Regions from separate parts of the Homo sapiens genome. Here regions 1 and 3 are each linked to region 2. Evidence: promoter capture Hi-C in 16 types of primary human blood cells and fetal thymus (Javierre and others, 2016). All regions are on one chromosome and are shown on one strand. Each heading gives the region's core, a stretch centred on a gene start or on the middle of the fragment in contact. The rest is flanking DNA. Distances are from core to core; before and after follow the strand shown.

Region 1 (2,994 bases), core at 159-2,658, 230 kb after region 2:
TCTCATCTATAGAGTGGGAATGGGATGGGTCAAACTGTGTGCCACAAATGACCCCAGAGGTGCCTTGAGTCTACCACAAGGGAATGGGGAACAGGGGTACAGCTCCAAGACTCCCCACCCACTTCAAGCAATACCTCTGCACTGTTATATATATTTTTTGTTTGTTTGTTTGTTTGTTTGTTTGAGAGAGAGTCTCCTTCTGTCACCAAGGCTGGAGTACAGTGTCGTGATCTTGGCTCACTGCAACCTCTGCCTCCCAGGTTCAAGGAATTCTCATACCTCAGCCTCCCGATTAGCTGGGATCACAGGCATGTACCACCATGCCCGGCTAATTTTTGTATTTTTGAGTAGAGATGGGGTTTCGCCATGTTGGCTAGGCTGTTCTCAAACTCCTGACCTCAGGTGATCTGCCCGCCTCGGCCTCCCAAAGTGCTGGGTTTACAGGCATGAGCCCCCTGTTATATGTTTTACACCAGCAGTCCCCAACGTTTTTGGCACCAGGTGCCATGACTGGTTTCATGGAAGACAATTTTTCCAAGGACAGGGGTGGGTGTGGGGGTGGTTTCATCAGGCATTAGATTCTCATAATGACTGTGCAACCTAGATCCCTTGCCATGCACAATTTACAAAAGGGTTGGTGCTCCTATGAGAATCTAATGCCGCCGCTGATCTGACAGGAGGCGGAGCTCAGGCGGTAATGCCAGCCACGGGGAGAAGCTGTAAAAACAGATGAAGCTTCACCTGCTCATCTCCTGCTGTGTGGCCCAGTTCCTAACAGGCCATGGACTGGTACTGGTCCAGGGCCCAGGGGTTGAAGACTCCTGTTTTACACATTACGGTTGTCTTACTGTTGTTGGAATACTTGTTCCAGGGGGACTAAGTTTTTTGAGCCCCCTTGGACTTGATAATCTCTCTGAACTCTAATGTGTCATGACTCATGCATTTCACAGATAGAATTCCTGCTGTTCTGCCATCTTAGACTGGATGCCAGATGAGAAGCACAGGCCAGGATGAGCATTTCCTGAGCACACCAGGCCATCCAGAATGGACACAAGGGACACACACTGGGGCTGTGTCATTTCTACCTTCCTTCTGCCAGTTCTGAAAAGGACACTTCTGAGGGCAGTCCTTCTCCAGTTCCACCCCCTACATAGCCATTCTCAGTATCCAGGAGGCTCGGAGAGGAGGGAGACTGGCTGCTGGGCCTATTCTGGAAGTTTGTGCCCGGGGAAGAGGGAGAAGCCAGGCTGGATGTTCGCCTTCCTGGAAAATGTAACTCATGTGTAACTCACACATCCACTAGGCTCTTGCTGCTCTCTTGAGAGTGAGATAAATTTGGTCCCAAGACCAAATCCCATATCTAAAGGAAGTCTAAAATCTGTACCAAGGTTTCTGTTAATCTCTAAGAGGCTGTAAACTAGTTTCTTGGTTGATGGATTAATTTGCTGACCAATGTACACGGTCCTTGTTGCACAACCAGAGGTGGAACTCAGCTTTTATTCCTCAGTTTTCCAGCCTTCCACACTGCTGCATAAACACAGCAGGTATTTATGAGTCTAGCAGCCTATCCTGAAGGGAAGCTGTGGCAAAGAGGAGGGCAGAGGAGGTATTTAAATTACAGAATTGCAAACATCTTCAAATTGAGCGTTAGGTCTCTGGTAGGCACCCCACCTCGCTGTCACCAGAGATGGTGACATCACTCTCTCTCTGGACTCTTGGATCCTCCCAGGATCCTCTCTCCTCTGCACTCTGCCATCACTCCTCCTCCCTATTGTCCTACAGGATTTTCCCCAAATTCAAATTTCTTTCACTCTGTTAAGCAAAGCCCTTTCTAGCTCCTACTCCTAAACTCAGTGGCATTCGCATCTCCAAACATTAGGGAGCTCACCTGAGTGGACAGAGACTGGATAGGCCTTTGTTTAACAGGACCTGCCCAACATAGAAGATACCTGTGGTTCTAGATAACATTTTCCTTGGCTCCAGATGGGCTTATCATGAGGCAGTGGTGACCATCAAGCTCTGGTTGAGCCCTTGTTGCATTCAGAGCACTGGGGAGGGGGGCAGAAGATGGGGACAAAGCTAAAGCTTGAGAAAACCCTTCTTGGATTCCCTAATTCATATTGGATGGCACCTGTGCCACTCTGTGACCCAAGCTAGAGTCCTGGTCATCGTGTCATCCCAGTTCCTGCTCACTCTGCCCTTGTTTAACATTTCGATGAGCCTTGCTGATTTGTACCTCCCAATAAATTTAATTTTCCCTTTGCCTGGTTGTGGACTTCCCTATGGCTAAAACTACAATATGACCTTATAAGTGCCCTGTTTGAAACTTGCTGGCAGCTCCCCTTGTCTGCAGGAAGAAGTCCAGCGTCTTCACAAGGACTACTCACTCTGCCCCGCTCTGTCCCTGCTCTCTGACCTTAACTCACTCCTTACCGCACCTCCCCTGCACCACTGCCCACCCTTTGCACTTTCTGCCAATAATACCAGAGATATTTTTATAACTTTGAACACACTATTCTTTGCCTATGCTGTTCCCTCTGTCTGGAATGGATCTCTCCCACTTCCATTTCCTTCCAAATTCCCAAGATACTCCTATTCATTCTTCAAAGCCCTGCTTAGTTGTCACATCTTGGGGAGCTCCCTTGGCTGGACCCCTAAACCATTGATTCCTCCCGGTCTTCACTCTTCCTATACCTAATATAAACTTACAATGTTGCAATATATTGTGGCACATTACAATGTTGCAGTCTACTCTCCTGGTGTGTTGTAAAGTTACAGTGTACTGTGGTATGCTACGATGTTGCAGAGTACTTCCCTGGTATGTTACAAAGTTAAAGCCTACCCTGGAGCTTTACAATGTTGCGGTGTATCCTCTTGATGCTTTACAACTATCCTAGCTCCCCCATTCCCAGCTATGTGATCTGGGGCATTATTTAATTTTTCTATGCCCCAGTTTCCTCACCTACCTCATGTGAGGAGTTGAATGAGTTAGCA
Region 2 (3,278 bases), core at 271-2,770:
CTTCTATCTGTCAGGGTGGTGCTCATGGGATGCTTGTGGGGGGGCATGATGCTGTGACTTCAGTTTGCCTGATTCCCCAGATGGCTTCATTTAGAGGCTGGACCCTATGTGGGTCTTCGGAGTAGCCATGGTGTCCAGCAGTGCCAGCAGGAAGCAGACTCCTCAACAACTCTGCCCCGGCATTCAAGGACCTCCTGAGTTCAGACTCACCCAGCCTGGCCAACCTCAACTCCTATCAAATCCTAGGCCCCCTGCAACGCCTGGCAGCTCTCTCTCTTGAACACATCAAGCTCTTCCATCCTCTGGATTTTTGCAAGGCCTATTTCTGCAGTCTCTCCCCTGTCCTCACCTCCCCCTTCCTTACCTCTTAAGTGATTCATCCACCTTTCTGAGAGCTTTCCCAAAGGCCACCTTACAATAAATTATTTCTTCCTCTGTTGGATCCCTACTTTGTTGTTACACATCTATTCATTGAGCGCTCTGTGCCCGACACTGTGCTGGTTTCCTAAAACTCATCCAAGCCTCTTGCTTTCTGCCTGGAGTGAAGAGTAGTTCACGTTCTGATTCTCAGTGCCTCTAGGGCTGGAGCGGAATCTTAATGTCTGTGTCCTCGTCTCTCACCACCGCGTTTTGCACTTTGTCGAAAGGTGTCAGATGGTGAGATGGCTTCTAGACTGGGCTCTGCCCACTAATTAGCTGTGTGGCCTTGGGAGAATCATCCGGCCTCTCTTGCTGCCCTTCTTTCCGATGAAATAATGCTGACGATGATATTTCAGGGTTGTCCAGGGGTCAATGAGGCGGGATAGAGGGAAGCATCGTGAAATCTGGGAGCCCCAGGCCAGCGAAAAATGTGGAAGGGCCGTACCCGCACTCTCCTAGCACTGGGTGTGAGGCAGCGTCGTTTCCCCTTCGCGCTCTTCGAATGTCAAGTGCACCAGCTTCCAATCCCTCCTCTGGGCGGGCCCGGTCTGGCTAATCTCAGCTGCAGATTCCAGTACAAACTCAGGACTCTCCCCCGCCCAGCCGCCCCTACACAAGGACTCGCCGAACACACCTTGAATCCCGCGCCAGAGCGCAGCCCGGAACTGCAGCTCGCGGCGCGGGCCCAGGTCGGGGGTCGCGCGTCTCCAGTCGGTGACTCAAGGCCGCTCGGTCCGGGGGTGGGTGTGGGTCGGCAGGACCGACCAGGGCCGCGCGGGGGCAGCTGCCGGGCGTTCGGTCACCTAGCGGTGGGAGCCGAGGCTGGCTTTGGCCAGTCGCCATTCCGCCGCGGGCGTCTGTCTCGCCGGGTTCCCGGGCGCGGGAGGAAGGCCCGCGCCGCTTCCCACTCGGCGCGCTTCTCTCCCAGTGCGCAGTGGCCTGGTGGGTCAGCCGGCGGCGGCTGGAGCGCGGGGCCGGCCCTGCGCACGAATGAATGGGCGCCCGGGGGACGCGCGCGCTCGGGGCTGAAGGGCATTAGGACCGTGAGGATCGCTCCGCGATCCTGTCTCTCCCTATCACCCCCCCGCCCCCCCACCTCTCTCCTTTTTCTGCTCTGCAGGACTGAGCAGCTAGGCGCGAGCGAAAACAAACAGCTGGGGCTGCGAGCGCCCCCGCCCCGGCCCCGAGAGCACGCCGGCCCAGTCCCCCACCTGGGGCGCCCGTCTGCCCACCATGAGGAAGATCCGCGCCAATGCCATCGCCATCCTGACCGTAGCCTGGATCCTGGGCACTTTCTACTACTTATGGCAGGACAACCGAGCCCACGCAGCATCCTCCGGCGGCCGGGGCGCGCAGAGGGCAGGCAGGAGGTCGGAGCAGCTCCGCGAGGACCGCACCATCCCGCTCATTGTGAGTACGCCCCGAGCGTCGGCCGGCCGGCTAGGGAGCCGCGGCGCGCGTCCAGACCCTGCGCGGCGGCCGAGGGCGCGGGGCCCGGCCAGGGCTGAGTGCCCGCTGCGCCGGGCCGGCTTTGTATATGTTGGAGCATTCCTGCCCGTTGTTATGGCAACCTCTGCCGGGCGGCGGGGCTGGGGCGCACCGACTAAGGGAGGGTGACAGAGGGTGGGGGCTGGGAGAAAGTGCTGCAAGTTTGGTGGGCCCGGCGTGCGCGCGCGGCTGGGAACGTGGCGGCTCTCCCGGCTCTGCGCTGCCGGGGCCGGGAGTCTGGGGGCTGCGGGAGCCTCGTGTGCCCCGGAAGGCTGCCGGGCCCAGCGCGCGGCGAGCGGGCGGTGGGAACCACTCGCAGCCGAGCGCGTAGGTGGCAGTGCGCAGCCCCTCTCCAGCCTTCTGGGGGCAGAGGACATCGGGTGGGGGCGTGGGTAGGGGAAGGCTCTCTAGGCGCTGCGCCTGGCTTCGAACCCCCTTCTGAGCCGGGTCAACTTGAACCCGCTTCTTCGGCGCGGACACCCAGCTTCCCCGGAGTTCTCTGGGTTGAGGAGAGGTCTCGCACTGTACGCGTCTCTCACTCCCAACCTTAGGGTCCGCCACCACGGGTAGGTGGGCAGTGTCAGCGCCCGAACTTGGCGATACCCTTGCATGAAGTCAGCCTCGCGACATCTAAGCGGGCAGGGAAACAAAGGCAGTGTGGCACAGCGGGGGCGGCGGCGGGGCTGCGGGGGCCCTTGGCGCTCTGGGGACCCGGGCGGGGGCGTGCGGAGCCGCAGCCGCCCTGCAGGGGGCGATCCTGTCGCCGTCTCCGTCCGAGCCCCAGGTGACAGAGCTGTGCGTGGCCAGGCAGGGGCACCTGTTGAGGCGGGAGGCTTTGGCACCCGCCGAGAGTGCGCTCGAGCGGGCGCATTCTTCCAGACGGGGGCGGTTGGTGGACGAGAGCCTCGGACGACCCTCGGGAACTACCAGGGCGGGGCAGCCTGGCCGGATGAGGACCAGGAAGAGGAGAGCCGAGTGGGGCGGGGGTAAAGGAGTGAGGAAGCGTGGCGATTCCGACAAGGAAAGATCTGGGCCTGGGGGTGGAGGGGTGAGGAGATCCGCGGGGGAGGTGCAAGGTCCGGAGGGCTGAGGCTTGTGTGGAGCCGAATCCGAGAAACGCATCCAGACGCGGATCTGAACCCCAGGAATATCGGGAAGTTCATTGGAGAGTGTCCCCTCATATTCCCATCCTGCCCCAGATTCCGAGTCCCCTGCAAAGGAAACATTATTTCAGGGCTTTGCCTGAGGAGACCTGGGGCGGGGGGGTGAGGTTGTGGGTTTTGTCCTAGATACCAGTCTGGGTGAACTCTCTGGGGGCAAGCCTGATTAGGTGCACTGTTCCCTTCTGGGCTGTTCTCCCAGGACACTGT
Region 3 (3,424 bases), core at 491-2,990, 190 kb after region 2:
ATTGTTAAATGGAAAAAAAAAAGCAAAAAATGTAATGATCATCTAGCATATACTATGTTTTATGTAAGAAAGAAGGGGAAATAAGAAAAACATACAGTTGACCTTTGAACAATATGAGTTTGAACTGTGTGAGTCCATTTATACATGGATTTTCTTTCAATAAAAGTTACACTGAGTGTGGCTGCCTCTCCTGCCCCCCTTCCACCTCCTTCACCTCTTCTACCTCTGCCACCCCTGAGACAGCAAGACCAACCCCTCCTCTTCCTCCTCATCCTCCTCAGCCTACTCAATGTGAAGATGATGAGGATGAAAACCTTTATGATGATCCACTTCCACTTAATAGTAAATATATTTTCTCTTTCTTATGATTTTTAAATAACATTTTCTTTTACCTAGCTTACTTTTTTGTAAAAATACAGTATTAATACATATAACAAATAAAATACGTGTTAATCGACTTTGTTATCATTAAGACTTCTGATCAACAGTAGGCTATTAGTGGTTAAGTTTTTGGGGAGTGAAAAGTTGTATGTGGATTTTTGACTGTGTAGGGGGTCAACACTCCAACATCCACATTGTTCAGTGCAGTGGTCAAGTGTATCTACTTACCTTTACAAAAAAGAAACAGAAGAAGAACTGGCTAGAAAACAAAAGACATTTATTAACTGCATGGGGTGAGGTGGAGGAGTTGAGAGGGCAAAAGGGTTTTGGGAGCACATGATATTCCCCTGAGCATGCCTTTTTGGTATAATTCTGACTTTTGGAAACATGTTAATGTTCTACATATTCAAAAAATAGAATGAAACCAATATGGATGGGAGCGCTAACTGAAACAGATGAATTGTATTTCAAGTGAATAATACAATCACACTGAAGGGATTTAACAAAAACTAATTCAAGTAAATTATGAATGTAGTATTTGACTACATATGTTTAGTCTTGGGTAGAGTTGGGAGAAAACCATAAACAAATACTGAACTCGTTGTTGTTGTTGTTGTTGTTGTTGTTTGTAATGGAATGGGCAAAACAGTTCTGAAGCTGCTTTAGATGTTTTATAGGATTGAGTCAATGGGTCATGTTGATGTTGGTGGAGTCAGGGTTCTAAGTGTGGAAGAAGGAACACACAAGTATGGAGTGGAGGAAGGCAAGAAAGAACCCCTATAGGGACTTATTGGAATTGGAAGTATTGGACTCGGGATTTCTAAATGTATTTGGTTTTGTATATATATTTATATATACATATATATATATATATGTCCTAGCTCTGTCTGAAGATGGGGCCTAGAAATAAAGACATCCCACTAGCATGAGCAAGCCAGGGCCTTTCAGAGAAGACTCAGGGCTGATTCCAGGACAGGGGCAGGGTAAGTACAAGTGAGCTTGGAACATCTAGAACTGAAAAAAACAGAAGGAAGGAAGAAGATGGGAGCATGTCATAGGATATAGGAACCCTCTTAAAAGGGTTCCCACTGGCCACATGTGGGATAAGTTGAGCACCAACATAATTAAGAACAGTAATAAAGCATAAACCATTCAAAAAATGGGAATCTGGCTGGGCGCGGTGGCTCACACCTGTAATCCCAGCACTTTGGGAGGCCTAGGCGGGTGCATCACCTGAGGTCAGGAGTTCAAGACCAGCCTGGCCAACATGGTGAAACCCCATCTCTACTAAAAATACAAAAATTAGCCAGGTATGGTGGCACACGCCTGTAATCCCAGCTACTGGGGAAGCTGAGACAGGAGAATTGCTTGAACCCAGGAGGCAGAGGTTGCAGTGAGCCAAGATTGTGCCATTGCACTCCAGCCTGGGAGACAAGAACTAAACTCTGTCTCAAAAAAAAAAAAAAAAGAAAAAGAAAAAAAAATGGGAATCCATGAGCCCATCTGTGATATATATATATATATATAGAGAGAGAGAGAGAGAGAGCGAGAGAGAGAGAGAGAGCACTTGCTTATAGTAGAATGCTCCAATTATTAAATGTAGAAAGAGTGCTGGAGTTGGAAAAATACTCATTTTTGCAACCCTCCTTAAAGGTTGGCTCAGGCACGCATCATCAATGAATGTTAAATGTAGGGGGCAAATTTTTATTTCCTTATTGGCTTCAAGGGGAAAGAAGTAACTAAATGAAGAAATCAGATGATACCTTGATCGGATAGTCAAAATTAAGGTCACAAGCATTCTGCTTTTGATATGACCAAGTAAGCTCTCAGATCAGCCTCCTTACAGGTAACTAAAAATGCTGGACAGAATTCAAAAAACCAGTGGAGAGCAACCCAAAGCAAGCAAATTCTGGAAGGGAGTCAACACTTAGAACAGGGTGCATTTCCTATTTTTACTGCTTTCAGTAGTCAGCCCCCTGTGGGACAGCTAAAACTCTGATAGAAAACTCAGTCTTTCTGGACTGAAGAACCAGAGGACAGAGTTCAGGAGTTTCAGTGGTTACAGCACTGAAAATAAGGGAGAATCCTAGAACGAAGAGAAACTCAGCCCCAAATTCTGTATATGAACTGCCTCGGTCTCCAGCTGACCCTGAACCATGCTTGGCAGACTCCAGGTAGCTCAGCTGAAGATAATTATGAACTAAACTGGGCTGGATGCAGTGGCTCATGCCTGTAATCCCAGGACTTTGGGAGGCCAAGGTGGGTGGATGGCTTGAGCCCAGAAGTTTGAGACCAGCCTGGGCAACATGTCAAAACCTTTTTTCTACAAAAAAATACAAAAATTAGCTGGTCGTGGTGACCTGCGCTTGTACTCCCAGCTACTTAGGAGACTGAGGTGGGAGGGTAGCTTGAGACCAGGACAGGGAGGTTACAGTGAGCCAATATTGTGCCACTGTATTCTAGCCTGGGCAACAGAGGGAGGCCCTGTCTCCAAAAAAAAAAAAAAAAAGTGATGGGGCACAGTCACTCAGGCTTGTAATCCCAGCACTTTGGGAGGCCGAGGCAGGTGGATCACAAGGCCAGGAGATCGAGACCATCCTGGCTAACACGGTGAAACCTCGTCTCTACTAAAAATACAAAAAAATTAGCCAGGCGTGTTGGCGGGCGTCTGTAGTCCCAGCTACTCGGGAGGCTGAGGCAGGAGAATGGCGTGAACATGGGAGGCGGAGCTTGCAGTGAGCCGAGGTCACGCCACTGCACTCCAGCCTGGGCAACAAAGTGAGACTCTGTCTCAAAAAAAAAAAAAAAAAAAGCACAAAAAAAAATTAAACTGAAAATTGAGCAGCAACCCAAAAGACATTTTGCAGTTTTAATCCAACCAAGCTACTTAAAGCAAAACAAACAAAAAAGTCACTCTTTGGAGGAATATAACAAAATCTGACTATCCATGAGATAATGTTGGCAATGTCCAGGATATAATTCAGAATTAACACCACCAGTGAGCAGCAGATGTACATCCTGCACCTCTAGATGTGATACCCGG

What was found. Contacts are between HindIII fragments. The CHiCAGO score rates a contact against its expected background, and 5 or more counts as called.
Region 1: a fragment that was not itself captured here is called in contact with the fragment with the promoter of GALNT16 in region 2 in 2 of 17 cell types (M1 macrophages and M0 macrophages); the score reaches 6.5 in M1 macrophages.
Region 3: a contact is called between a fragment that was not itself captured here and the fragment with the promoter of GALNT16 in region 2, in 4 of 17 cell types (M0 macrophages, M1 macrophages, M2 macrophages and 1 more). The highest score is 6.2, in M0 macrophages.

The regions. Positions count from the first base shown.
Region 1 is chr14:69,489,702-69,492,695 of GRCh38, forward strand. All of the region lies in intron 1 of PLEKHD1 (pleckstrin homology and coiled-coil domain containing D1), which reads left to right. Among named protein-coding and RNA genes, the nearest start is that of PLEKHD1, 6.5 kb to the left of the region's middle. The HindIII fragment of the contact is 1,350 bases long and covers 734-2,083 here.
Region 2 is chr14:69,258,638-69,261,915 of GRCh38, forward strand. GALNT16 (polypeptide N-acetylgalactosaminyltransferase 16) reads left to right here and starts at 1,521. Exons shown (of 15, transcript NM_001168368.2): 1 at 1,521-1,830. The coding sequence starts at 1,654. It overlaps GALNT16-AS1 (GALNT16 and EXD2 antisense RNA 1), which reads right to left and starts at 1,890. Exons shown (of 4, transcript NR_184249.1): 1 at 1,653-1,890. RefSeq lists a silencer at 2,567-2,626. The HindIII fragment of the contact is 12,811 bases long and covers 1-3,278 here.
Region 3 is chr14:69,445,041-69,448,464 of GRCh38, forward strand. All of the region lies in intron 3 of SLC39A9 (solute carrier family 39 member 9), which reads left to right. Among named protein-coding and RNA genes, the nearest start is that of PLEKHD1, 38 kb to the right of the region's middle. The HindIII fragment of the contact is 4,573 bases long and covers 1-3,424 here.